4 separate regions of the Homo sapiens genome follow, and regions 1, 2 and 3 are each linked to region 4. The links are contacts of gene promoters, found by promoter capture Hi-C in blood cells and fetal thymus (Javierre and others, 2016). All regions are on one chromosome and are shown on one strand. Each heading gives the region's core, a stretch centred on a gene start or on the middle of the fragment in contact. The rest is flanking DNA. Distances are from core to core; before and after follow the strand shown. Region 1 overlaps HDAC6 (histone deacetylase 6). Region 2 overlaps ZNF630 (zinc finger protein 630). Region 3 has its middle 13 kb from the start of ZNF630-AS1. Region 4 holds the start of SLC38A5 (solute carrier family 38 member 5).

What was found. The method cuts DNA at HindIII sites, captures the fragments that hold promoters and counts their contacts. A CHiCAGO score of 5 or more calls a contact.
Region 1: a fragment that was not itself captured here is called in contact with the fragment with the promoter of SLC38A5 in region 4 in 1 of 17 cell types (neutrophils); the score reaches 5.7 in neutrophils.
Region 2: a contact is called between a fragment that was not itself captured here and the fragment with the promoter of SLC38A5 in region 4, in 1 of 17 cell types (naive CD4 T cells). The highest score is 5.2, in naive CD4 T cells.
Region 3: a contact is called between a fragment that was not itself captured here and the fragment with the promoter of SLC38A5 in region 4, in 4 of 17 cell types (naive CD4 T cells, naive B cells, M1 macrophages and 1 more). The highest score is 6.4, in naive CD4 T cells.

What each region holds. Positions count from the first base shown.
Region 1 is chrX:48,820,988-48,824,317 of GRCh38, forward strand. HDAC6 (histone deacetylase 6) reads left to right here. Exons shown (of 29, transcript NM_006044.4): 24 at 1,633-1,807; 25 at 1,925-2,601; 26 at 2,685-2,798; 27 at 2,935-3,081; 28 at 3,179-3,307. Among named protein-coding and RNA genes, the nearest start is that of ERAS, 3.9 kb to the right of the region's middle. The HindIII fragment of the contact is 4,474 bases long and covers 1-3,330 here.
Region 2 is chrX:48,060,012-48,063,036 of GRCh38, forward strand. It overlaps ZNF630 (zinc finger protein 630), which reads right to left. Exons shown (of 5, transcript NM_001282201.2): 3 at 808-934; 4 at 439-534; 5 at 1-192. All of the region lies in intron 1 of ZNF630-AS1 (ZNF630 antisense RNA 1), which reads left to right. Among named protein-coding and RNA genes, the nearest start is that of ZNF630-AS1, 5.2 kb to the left of the region's middle. The HindIII fragment of the contact is 4,033 bases long and covers 1-3,025 here.
Region 3 is chrX:48,041,773-48,045,046 of GRCh38, forward strand. No RefSeq gene overlaps it. Among named protein-coding and RNA genes, the nearest start is that of ZNF630-AS1, 13 kb to the right of the region's middle. The HindIII fragment of the contact is 940 bases long and covers 1,266-2,205 here.
Region 4 is chrX:48,469,010-48,472,091 of GRCh38, forward strand. SLC38A5 (solute carrier family 38 member 5) reads right to left here and starts at 1,251. Exons shown (of 17, transcript NM_033518.4): 1 at 1,173-1,251; 2 at 326-427. The HindIII fragment of the contact is 10,592 bases long and covers 1-3,082 here.

The DNA.
Region 1 (3,330 bases), core at 512-3,011, 350 kb after region 4:
CCACCACGCCCAGCTAATTTTTGTATTTTTAGTAGAGATGGGGTTTCACCATGTTGGTCAGGCTGGTCTTGAGCTCCTGGCCTCAAGAAATCCACCCACCTTAGCCTCCCAGAGTGCTGGAATTACAGGCATGAGCCACCGCACCTGGCCCCTGGTTACTGTTATGCGTTGTTCAGATATTAACCCACTCAGCAACCTTCTGTGCTCTTATTTTCTTTTTCTTTTTCTTTTTTTTTTTGAGACGTTGTCTTGCTCTGTCGCCCAGGCTAGAGTGCAGTGGTGCGATTGTGGCTCACTGGGTTCAAGCAGTTCTCTGCCTCAGCCTCCTGAGTAGCTAGGATTACAGGTGCCTGCCACCACACCCAGCTAATTTTTTTGTATTTTTAGTAGAGACGGGGTTTCACCATGTTGGCCAGGCTGGTGTTGAACTCCTGACCTCGTGATCCACCTGCCTCAGCCTCCCAAAGTGTTGGGATTACAGGCATGAGCTACCATACCTGCCTCTTTTTTTTTTTTTTTTTTTTTTTCCTTTTGAGACAGAGTCTCGCCGTGTCACCCAGGCTGGAGTGCAATGGCGCTATCTCGGCTCACTGCAGCCTCTATCTCCCAGGCTCGAGCAAGCAATTCTCATGCCTCAGCCTCCCGAGTAGCTGGGACTACAGGCGCATGCCACCACGCCTGGCTAATTTTTGTATTTTTAGTAGAGACGGGGGTTTCACCATGTTGGCCAGGCTGGCCTCAAACTCCTGACCTCAGGTAACCTTCCCGCCTCGGCCTCCCAAAGTGCTGGGATTATAGGGGTGAGCCACCGCGCCCAGCCTGTGCTGTTATTTTCACCACTTTACAGATGAGGAAAATAAGTCACTGAGAAATTAATTGGCTTGCAAAAAGTCGCACTTACTATGTGCCCAGTACTGCTTGTGACAGGACACGGTGGGAGTTAAGAACACAGATGACTCCATCAGAGAGCCCAAGTTCAAACCCCAGTGCTGCCTCTTCAGCTGTTATGACCTCGGACAAGTCATCTAACCACTCTGAGCCTCAGTTTCTTTATCTGTAAAAAGAATAGCAACTGGGATTCCTGTAGAGTGTAAAAAAAGTCAATACAGGAGTCCATGTGGAGAAAGAGTCCAGTTGTTCCTGTACTAGGTCAGGGCAGGGGCTTTTGTATGGGTTCACAGCAGTCGTCTTGTGCAGGTCAGGTCAGTGGTTACTGTATGATGTGAGGCCAGGGGTTCCTGGACAGTGTGAAGACGGATTTCTGTATGGCATGAAGGCAAGTTCCTGTATAGATTGAGCGCCTGTGGTTGTGAGGATTGAGTTAATATGCATGAAGTACTTAAAATCGGGTCTGGCACACAGCAAACAATAAATGTCAGCTGTTACTAATGCTTTTATCAGTATTGTTATCTTGCACTTTACATCACAATTTACTCCCCACAACAACCACCTTACACAGTGGGTGCTGCCTATCTTAAAGGTGTGGGTTCTGTTCACTTGTTCTCAGTACTCCCCCTCCCTCTCCAGACTTGCAGGGCTCAGTAGGGAGGATTGGGGAGGCAGGACATGTTGTCCTCCAAATTCCCCAATGAACCCCCACCATACCTTTCCCTCCCCTTTTCCTTAACAAAGGGTGGCTATAACCTGACATCCATCTCAGAGTCCATGGCTGCCTGCACTCGCTCCCTCCTTGGAGACCCACCACCCCTGCTGACCCTGCCACGGCCCCCACTATCAGGGGCCCTGGCCTCAATCACTGAGACCATCCAAGTCCATCGCAGATACTGGCGCAGCTTACGGGTCATGAGTGAGTGGATTTGGGGGTGATGGGGGGAACCCAGGGAAGGAGGGGGCTGAGGGGCAGAGATCAGAGGCAGGAAGGGTGACAGTACCCACACTCAAGGATCTCCCTCCCTGGTTCCAGAGGTAGAAGACAGAGAAGGACCCTCCAGTTCTAAGTTGGTCACCAAGAAGGCACCCCAACCAGCCAAACCTAGGTTAGCTGAGCGGATGACCACACGAGAAAAGAAGGTTCTGGAAGCAGGCATGGGGAAAGTCACCTCGGCATCATTTGGGGAAGAGTCCACTCCAGGCCAGACTAACTCAGAGACAGCTGTGGTGGCCCTCACTCAGGACCAGCCCTCAGAGGCAGCCACAGGGGGAGCCACTCTGGCCCAGACCATTTCTGAGGCAGCCATTGGGGGAGCCATGCTGGGCCAGACCACCTCAGAGGAGGCTGTCGGGGGAGCCACTCCGGACCAGACCACCTCAGAGGAGACTGTGGGAGGAGCCATTCTGGACCAGACCACCTCAGAGGATGCTGTTGGGGGAGCCACGCTGGGCCAGACTACCTCAGAGGAGGCTGTAGGAGGAGCTACACTGGCCCAGACCACCTCGGAGGCAGCCATGGAGGGAGCCACACTGGACCAGACTACGTCAGAGGAGGCTCCAGGGGGCACCGAGCTGATCCAAACTCCTCTAGCCTCGAGCACAGACCACCAGACCCCCCCAACCTCACCTGTGCAGGGAACTACACCCCAGATATCTCCCAGTACACTGATTGGGAGTCTCAGGACCTTGGAGCTAGGCAGCGAATCTCAGGTAAGGCTCACCACACCCAGGTAGGGGCAAGAAGGGGCAAGAATCGGGCTTCTCTGATACATCTCTTACTTCTGCGTGTCCAGGGGGCCTCAGAATCTCAGGCCCCAGGAGAGGAGAACCTACTAGGAGAGGCAGCTGGAGGTCAGGACATGGCTGATTCGATGCTGATGCAGGGATCTAGGGGCCTCACTGATCAGGTGAGCTCAGGGAGAGGCTGGGACTGTGGCTTCCTTCTCTTGCCAATTTGTGTCTCCAGGTAGGAGCATGTGATGAATAAACATATAATGGGGAGATGGGGTCTTCAGCTTACCTAGTTTCACCCACCCACTCCAGGCCATATTTTATGCTGTGACACCACTGCCCTGGTGTCCCCATTTGGTGGCAGTATGCCCCATACCTGCAGCAGGCCTAGACGTGACCCAACCTTGTGGGGACTGTGGAACAATCCAAGAGAATTGGGTGTGTCTCTCTTGCTATCAGGTATGGAGCAGAGGAAGGGGATGGGGCGGAGGTTGGCCCGGGAGCAAACTGCAGGGGGATGCTGACCCCCACCTGACACTCACACCCCCAACCTCAGGTCTACTGTGGTCGTTACATCAATGGCCACATGCTCCAACACCATGGAAATTCTGGACACCCGCTGGTCCTCAGCTACATCGACCTGTCAGCCTGGTGTTACTACTGTCAGGCCTATGTCCACCACCAGGTGGGCCCTGGGTAGACCCTTCG
Region 2 (3,025 bases), core at 132-2,631, 410 kb before region 4:
GACTGATGACTGTGACCTGCCTCAAAACTCTGTCTTGATTTCCTTGATATCTATCCATCTGATTATCAATATGCCAGATTTTTAAAACAGAGTACAATGAATTATCCTTTGGGGCTCTTTCTAGTATCTCCCTTTGAAATAAAAGTTCTCCAGAAATGATCTGCTGGGAAGATTCAAGGCCTTTCACTCTGTCTGAAGGAAGAAGAAAGAGGGAAAATCAAATACACACACACACACACACACACACACACACACACACACACACACACACACACAAAACAGTTGGCAATGAACAGAGGTACTAGGAAGGTGGCTGTTGTAGAATGAATGTTATAAAGGAGGCCTGATAAATTTTAAGGAAGAAAAAAGGTAACGGATGTCAGAGATGTCAAGGAAGAAGAAGATGCCCGCTTGACCATGTACCCAATTCTCACTTACCTGGGTAGATCCACCTTGACAACTCACTCTCTATGATCCATGGGTCCTTTCCATGTTCCAACTTAAAGATTACATCTGGTTTTATACCTGAACACCCTGTTAAGAGAAAATTGTAGTGGCTTTGGCCTTGGCAGCTCAGAAATTCATGAAGAGAAGCACTTGCAGGGGCCTCCCAGCAAAGTTGGATCCTTAACTCACACCATAACATAAAAATAAATTCTAGATATAACAAAAGTATAAACATGAAAAACCAAAACTATAAAAGAACACACTCTATTAAAGGAATATCATAAAGGTCATGGTATTGACAGCACTAAAGGAAGGATGAGGAGGATTTGATTCATTGGTACACAGGGAATCTGCCCTTACCCACGGAGACCAGGTGATTATAGGTCTCCAGCATCACATCCCTATGCAGGGTCTTCTGAGCAGGATTCAACTGCTGCCACTCTTCCTGCGTGAAGTCCACAGCCACATCCTCAAATGTCACTGGTTCCTATAACAGCACATTCCTGTACAATCTGCTCGTTCTGGTCATTTTTACCATAGCAGTACATGTAGGATGCCTACTTTGCACTTTGCCCAGCATACTTTATGAGAGAAACAATGTAAAACCCTGCCATTAGCAAGAATAGTTAGTGGAACAGAACAGACAGTCTAGAAATAGATACAAATAAAAATGGGAAATTTAATATATAATAAAGGTAGCATTTTAAACAGGAATGGAAAAACAGACTATTCAAAACTGGAGAGCTATCAGAAAAAAATTAACTGGATTCCCTACCTCACACTATATACAAAAATAAATTCATGACAAAAATTTAAATGAAAAAAGAGAAACTATAAAATAAAGACAGGAGAGGTTTTAAAAAATAATCTTTGAGTGGAGAAGACTCTTCTAAGCATGCCCCAAAACCCAGATGCCACAAATGAAAACACTGATAAATGTGACTACTTTATGTATTACATGGCAAAATATATCAAACAAACTCAAAGGATATGACTAACTAGGGAAAAAATATACACATAACAGATAGGATGGACAAAGAGTTAATTTCCTCCATGTATAGAGAGAGCTCCTACAAAGCAAGAAGAAAAAGACCAATAACTTTTTAAAAAATGGTTGATATGGTTTGACTCTGTTTCCCCACCCAAATCTCATTTTGAATTGCAATCCCCACTTGTCAAGTGAAGGAGGTGATTGAATCATGGAGGCAGTTTCCCCCATGCTGTTCTCATAATAGTGAGTGAGTTCTCACAAGATCTAATGGTATTATAAGCGTCTGGCATTTCCCTTGCTGGCACTTCTCTCTCCTGCCACCATGTGAAGAAGGTCCTTGCTTCCCCTTCCACCATGATTGTAAGTTTCCTGAGGCTTCCCCACCCCCGTGGAACTGTGAGTCAATTAAACCTCTCTCCTTTATAAATTACCCAGTCTTGGGTATTTCTTTATAGTGACATGAGAACAGACTAATACGATGGTCAAGGGACATGACCATCATTTCACAGAAAATAAAATGCAAATGTTTTTTAAACATGTAAAAAGATGCTCAACTTCACTCACATGAAGATAAATGCAAACTAAGACAAGACAGCATTTTTCCCTTACATATTATCAAAGATGGGTGTTTGATAAGTCACTGGTCAAATGCTATGACTAGGGATAAGTCACAGTGACTTAGGGTAAGTTAGTGAAGATGTCAAGAAGCAGGCATACTCAAATTGTCTGTGGTGTATGGTATATTTTGAAGGCAATTAATTTGGCAATATCTATCCAAATTTATAATGTATACATCCTCTGACTCGCAATTTGGTTTCTAGAAGTTATTCTACATAAACATTCACTTATGTGAGCAAATGACATGTGTGAAGACACTGCTCTACAGTACTATTTATAATAGCAAAAGAATGGAAACCACCTCATGGGAGATTGGATGAATAAATAATGCTACAATCTCCATAAGGGAATACTATATGCAATTATAAAAAGCAACAAAGAAGGGGCCAGATGTGGTGGCTCACGCCTGTAATCCCAGCCCTTGGGGAGGCAGGGGCAGGTGGATCACTTGAGGTCAGGAATTCAAGACCAGCCTGGCCAACATGGCGAAACCCCGTCTCTACTAAAAATACAAAAATTAGCCGAGCATGGTGGTGCATGCCTGTAGTCCCAGCTACTCAGGCGGCTGAGGCAGGAGACTTGCTTGAACCCAGGAGGCGGAGGATGCAGTGAGCCGAGACTGTGCCACTGCACTCAAGCCTGGGCGACAGACTGAGACTCTGTCTCAAAAACAAACAAACAACCAGCCTGGGCAACATGGCAAAACCCTGTCTCTACAAAAAATTAGCCGGGTGTGGTGGCACACACCTATAGTCCCAGCTACTAGGGAGGCTGAGGTGAGAGGATTACCTGAGCCTGGGAGGTCAAGACTGCAGTGAGGCAAGATAGTGCCACTGCACTCTAGCCTGGGCAACTGGGGTGAAACCCTGTCTCAAAAAGAAAGAAAGAAAGAGAGAGAGAGAGAGAGAGGGAGGGAGGGAGGGAGGGAGGAAGGAAGGAAGGAAGGCAGGCAGGCAGGCAACAAGGAAG
Region 3 (3,274 bases), core at 486-2,985, 430 kb before region 4:
GATGGAGCCACCGCACTCCAGCCTGGGCGACAGATTGAGACTCTGTCTCAAAAAGAAAAAAGAAAAAAGATTAGATTTGAGGAAGGCAAAATGTCAAAAATTGTTAGGATACTTGAAAATTTGGTTAAATAGGGTCATGGGTCACTGATAAACAATACTTGGCTACCATTTAACTAAAGTGATTTTAAAGTAAATATAGGAGGTAACATGGTTGTAAAAATAGCTCTTTAAAAAGTGAAAAAACTTGATTCTCTTAAATAACTAAGGATATGAAAAAGTCAACATAAAGCACAGGTATAAAGAGCTGGGTGTCCTCTAATTCAATCCACTACTGACTATCTACTTGGAGACAGAGTCAGCTCCCACAAGTTGAGGACTCAGTCTCACAAGACTGTCTCCCATTTGAGATGCCAGTTGCAAGCACATATTGAGACCTGTACTTCTTACCAACTGGCTGTAAGTCAGGATTCCCACGACCCCCCTGAGGTTCAATTCATTTGCTAGAGCAGCTCACAGAACCCAGGCAAACACTTTACTTATGTTTACTGGTTTATTAATAAGGGATATAATGAAGGATGAAGATTAACAGCCAGATAGCGAAGATGCATAGAGCAAGGCATGAGGGAAGGGGTGTGGAGTTCCCATGCCGCCTCCAGAGCACCACCCTCCAAGAACCCACACATTTCCAGCTATCTGGAAGCTCCCCAAGCCCTGTCCTTTTGGGTTTTTATAGAGGCTCCATTACCTAGATGTAATTGATTACATCATTAGCCATTGATGATCAATTCAACCTTCAGCCCCAGAGTTGAGGGATGGGGCTGGAGGTCCCAACCTTCTAATCACATGGTTGATTCCCCTGGCAACCAGCTCCCATCCTGAGGCTATCCAGGAGGACATTAAGAGGTCACCTCATTAGAGCAAAAGATGCTTCTATCACCCAGGAAATTCCAAGGGATTTAGAAGCTCTGTGTCAGACACTCCTATCACACAAGAAATTACAACGGTCTTAAGAGCTTTGTATCAGAAACTGGGGTCAAAGACCAAATATTAAAACAGAATATTTTTATCATCTCTCTCTCCTGTAATGATAGACAGACCTAACGGACTATTAAAATTAAAGCTTGCTAAACTGGACATAGTGGCTTACGCCTGTAATCCCAGCACTTTGGGAGGTCAAGGCACCAGGAGTTCAAGACCAGCTTGAGCAACATAGTGAGACCCCATCTGTAAAAGACAAAACTAAACCAAAAACAAACAAACAATAAAGCTTAGTAAACTGATGGAAAAACTCAATCTCCAATGAACTAAAGTTTTACCCTCTCTGGGACTCTCCTTCACCATCTGTAAAATGAAGCCAGGGCTCATTTACGTGGGATTCCCATGAGGATCAAGTAAAACTGTGCTGGAAGACTTTAGCACAACACATTCCTGTCTGGCAGCAGAAGGGGATCAGCCTTGAGGTATAAAATTCTGGGTTGCAATCAGTGGTGTGCTGATAACAGCTGGCCCCAGCGAAATGGCACAAGCCAGCTCAGCATGGCTCGATTTATGTGAAGTTTCTAGAAGAGGCTAAACTAATCTATGGTGAGAAAAGTCAGGACAATGCTTGCCTCTGGAGGGGGTGGCAGCAGGGATTGATAAGGAAAGGGCATGAGGGAACTGTCTCAGGTGATGGTCGTGTTTAATGTTTTGATAGGGGTTTACATTTGTCAAAATTCTTTGAATGATACACTTGAGATTTATACATTTCACTGTATACAATTTTACTTAAAACTGTAAATATTGAACTCTAGTTAATGATATGTACGCTGAATTATCTAGAAGCGAAGTGCACTGAAATCTGCAACTTACTTTGAATTGCACCAAAAAATAACATGGATTGATGGACAGATAGAAACATGGATAGATGAAAAGAGATGAGATAAAGCCAGGTTAACAACATGTAACAGTCTGGGTGTAGGGTATATTGGCACTTACCAAACAATTCTTTGTATCTTCTGTATGCTTGAAGATTTAATTATGAAAAATGTTGAGGAAACATACTGAGCATATCTTACATACAAAGTTGTTTATCTTTGCCCCATTGCTTCTAGTAGTTTCATTTACATATATTGATTATAATTTTATCCACTAATGACTTTTACTTTGCAGAGAAAACTAGGAAGTAGATAACTATGAACTGTCTATCATAGAGCAGGCTAGCAAAGCTTATGAATATATATCTCACAATCTAGTTGATACAATATTGGCTTATTCGACTAGTAAACCTGTACACATTTAGGAAGAACATACCAAGTAGAAAGAAGTGTATACTTCTGTTATACTTAATGGTAATAACTCATAAAACATAGCTATTTTTATTAAGCCAACAATATTAAGCTAATTTTGTTTGCCAAAGATTTACCTAAATTAGGTAACTTGAATTTTTTTTTTTTAGATGAATTTCCTTCTTGTTGCCCAGGCTGGAGTGCAGTGGTGTGCTCATGGCTCACCGCAACTTCCGCCTCCTGGGTTCAAGCGATTCTCCTGCCTCAGCCTCCCGAGTAGCTGGGATTATAGGCATGCACCACCACGCCCGGCTAATTTTGTATTTTTAGTAAAGATGGAGTTTCACCACGTTGACCAGGCTGGTCTTGAACTCCTGACCTCAGGTGATCCACCCGCCTTAGCCTCCCAAAGTGCTGGGATTACAGGTGTGAGCCACCACGCCCGGCAGTAAATTGAATTTTTAAAACATTTATGTTAGGTTTTAGAGAATACTTTTTCCCCCACACTGGAAGTATTAGAAGTTCAGATTTTTTTTTTCTGACAGTTTTAGGGTTTTTAAGGAATTTTATAAATTAATTTGATAGTATCATCCAGAGGTAGAAAAATATCACATATGCATAAAATAAATACATAAACATACAGGCAGATGCAAATAAAGATCTTACAGGTTTCATTCTAAAATTTTAGCCACGATTCAGGCATAAACACAGAAATACAAAACTCACTAGTCAATACAACAGAGTTGGCTCATTGTCTTTGCCCCACTTTGTATTTTTATCAGAATTCTGTTTCTGGCAGACGGGACAAGTTGAGGTTTACCTATTCAACATGAGGGCTAAAGCTTCCCATCAATATTTCTGGAGGAGACCTTTTTTTTCTTTTCTTTTTTTTTTTTTTTTTTTTGAGACGGAGTCTCACTCTGTTGTCCAGGCTGGAGTGCTGGAGTGCAGTGGCGTGATCTCGGCTCACTGCAAGCTCCGCCTCCTGGGTTCATGCCATTCTCCTG
Region 4 (3,082 bases), core at 1-2,500:
CTCAGAAACCCCCATTCAAGGTCCCCATTAGAGCTCAAACTGGCTCAGGAAATCCTTTTCCCAAGTCCTGAATCCCGTTCCTGGGACAGGGAGGGTCTCAAGGAGTCCCATCCCCCACCACCAGCACCCTCCGGAGCCTCCCACCCACACCTGAATTCACTTCCTGGGATCAGGGTACAAAAAGGACCTCCCCATACACGCCATTCCATTCCCCACTAGTGCTAAAATGTCTCCAAGGAACCCCGAGCCCCCTCCCAGGACCCCTACTCATATCTCAGGCCCCCAGGAACACCATCCCCGCAGCCCACGCTCCCTCCTCACCTACCTGCTCCTCTCAGCTCCTGAAGTGGCCGCAACTCAGACTCAGGTTCGGGCACCCTCTCGGCTGCCTAGGCTCCTGCTCTGGAGCGGTACTTTTTTTTTTTTCCTGAGAAGAAATGTTAATTTTAATTTCGTTTCCCTCCTTCTGGCCCTGGGCGGGGGAAGAGGTGGAGAAGGGGCGCCCCCTATCTGGACCCACTTGGAGGGAGACAGCGGTTTGTTTGTGTGTTGATGGTGGGGGAAATGGCCTGAAAGATTGAGGGTGTAGACCCACAGCTAGAGAGAGTGACAGGCAGACAGAGGGGATGGACTCACAGAGCAGACGGACAGCAGGATGGGATGGATGGCAGAAAAAGGTGCAGAGAGGAGACAGAGAGAGAGTAGGAGAACTGAAGTTACAAAGAAAGCAGGCATGAGAAACAGCACAGGAACAGACAGACCACAGAAGGGACAGAAAGACAGATGGGCGGGAGGAGGGGATGCTAGGGGAGCTTGGAAGACAGGCAGAGACAGGGAGAAAGGGACACACAGGCAGACTCAGAAACAAACAGGTGGGTAGGGATAGGCTCGTGGAAACACCTGCAGAAAGGCAACAGGCAATTGGGCTCAGTCATAGACAGGAGACACAGGCTGGCCAAGAGGTGGGGGACAGAGCCAGACAGCTCCCCAAACAGAGGGTAGGACCAGACACACCAGCTCAGAGAGATGAAGGGGCAGAGAGAGTGGTTGAGGCAGAGAGACTCCTGGAGGGACAGGAGAAAAGAGGCAGAGAGAGGCAGATTCAGGCAGAGAGGCCTGGGGACAGCAGGGGAACAGGTGCAGGGGTAGTAGCCAGGCTATTCCAGGCAGACCTCAGGCAGACAGCCTAGGCACGAGAGGACCCTAGATCTTGGGGGCCCCCAGAGGGAGGCAGGGAGGGCATTTGTGGCTGGGTGGGGAATGTGGACTGTGAACTCACACTGTCCGCAAACTGGGCGGGCACTGTAGTCCTGGACCCCACCCCAAGCGTGGGGTGGGGCTTGTCCAAGCCCTGAGAAGTCCCACTATCTGTCTGTCCGTCTGTCTTCTATGGGAGTCCGTCTGTTCACTCCCCTCCAGGCATATGACAGGCATGCCTGTCCCAGGCAAGCCACGTGTCCGCTACAGGATGTCAGGCAGGGTGGACTTGGGGTCTGGGACCACCTCGACTGGGCTGCTTGAAGCCCAGGTGGACAAGAGGCCTCTGTCTGGGCCCCTCGCCCGCCTGCCCACCCCCGACAGGGAACACAGAATTCCCGGAAAGGCCAGGAGCTGGCTGGGGCTTCAAAGCTGGCCTAGATGCCCTCACCCCACCCACAGTTGGAGGAGGACAAGGGATGGGGCGTTTACTTCCCCACAGCGGGAGAGAGACTCCTGCACACTCAGGAATCGCAGCTACACAACAGGACCCATCACAGCCCCATCAAGGGGCTCAGATACGGGGGCCAACTCGCCATCACTCACAGAGGTGCACAAAGACTCACAGCCACACAAGAGAATAAAGACTGACAGACATGAACACACACAGACTCACCACTGCACGTTAAGAGCAATGGCTCATGGGACAGTCACACACGTGGCCACACAGAGTGACGATAGTCTTACAGCTATCAATACCGACAGGCTCAGAGCCGCTCACAGAGAGCACAGACTAACACAGGGATAGGCTTGTGCCGATTTCCAGACACTCGAGACTCCTGAACCTCACCGCCCGTGGACCCACAGCCATGCCAAAGACAATCAACAGGCAAATCACACACACAGATTCACAGCCACACACAGAGCACACAATTACACACAGCTGATGACATTGTGTGTGGGTCCTGGGTCTTTCCCACACACACGATCCAGGTTCAGATGGCCCTGGATCTGAACCTGAATCCAGGTTCAGATGACCCTGGAGGCAAACTTCCAGGTTCAAGCCCTAAAATGATATCTCTGTGTATGTGAACTTGAATGTGCACTTGTGACCACATGTAACCACATACAGCTCCAGTCACAGAGAGAGGCACTCATAGGCTGACATGATTTTTGTACAAACAGAAAAGCCATAGTCTCCTTCTCTCTCTCTCTCCTCTCTCTCTCTCTCTCACACACACACACACACACAACTGCATTTCAGCAAATGGCTGCACACAGCCGTGTACACACACAGCTAGTCACAAATCAAGTCAGAAAAGAAACATATAGGGAAAGCATATACCTGCACACAAACACAAAGCACAGGAATGCAGAGTACGCTTACTATCGTTGCAAAGAAAAAATCCAGAAACCACACTGAAAGCTACACAAGGAAAAAACAAGAGAACCAGATAGTACTCATACCATGGCACCAGAAGAAACACCCCGAGGGCACACATACCTGCAGCCACTCGCTAAGAAGAGACACAAATACAGCAGCAGACACACAAAGAAAGATACGTGCGCATAGATACACATATAGGAGGGACAAGTACTCTGACACACTTGTCACCCACGACCATTACAAAGGAGACAAACACCCAAGCAACACACACACACAACAACATATAGATGAACTGCACCGACAGACAGTACCAATGCACACGGTTGCCAAAAAAAAAAAAAAAAAAAAGGTATGAGTTGGGCCGGGTGCAGTGGTTCATGCCTGTAATCCCAGCACTTTGGGAGGCCAAGGTGAGTGAATCATGAGGTCAGTAGTTCGAGACCAGCCTGGCCAACGTGGCGAAACCCCGTCTCTACTAAAAATACAAAAAAAATTAGC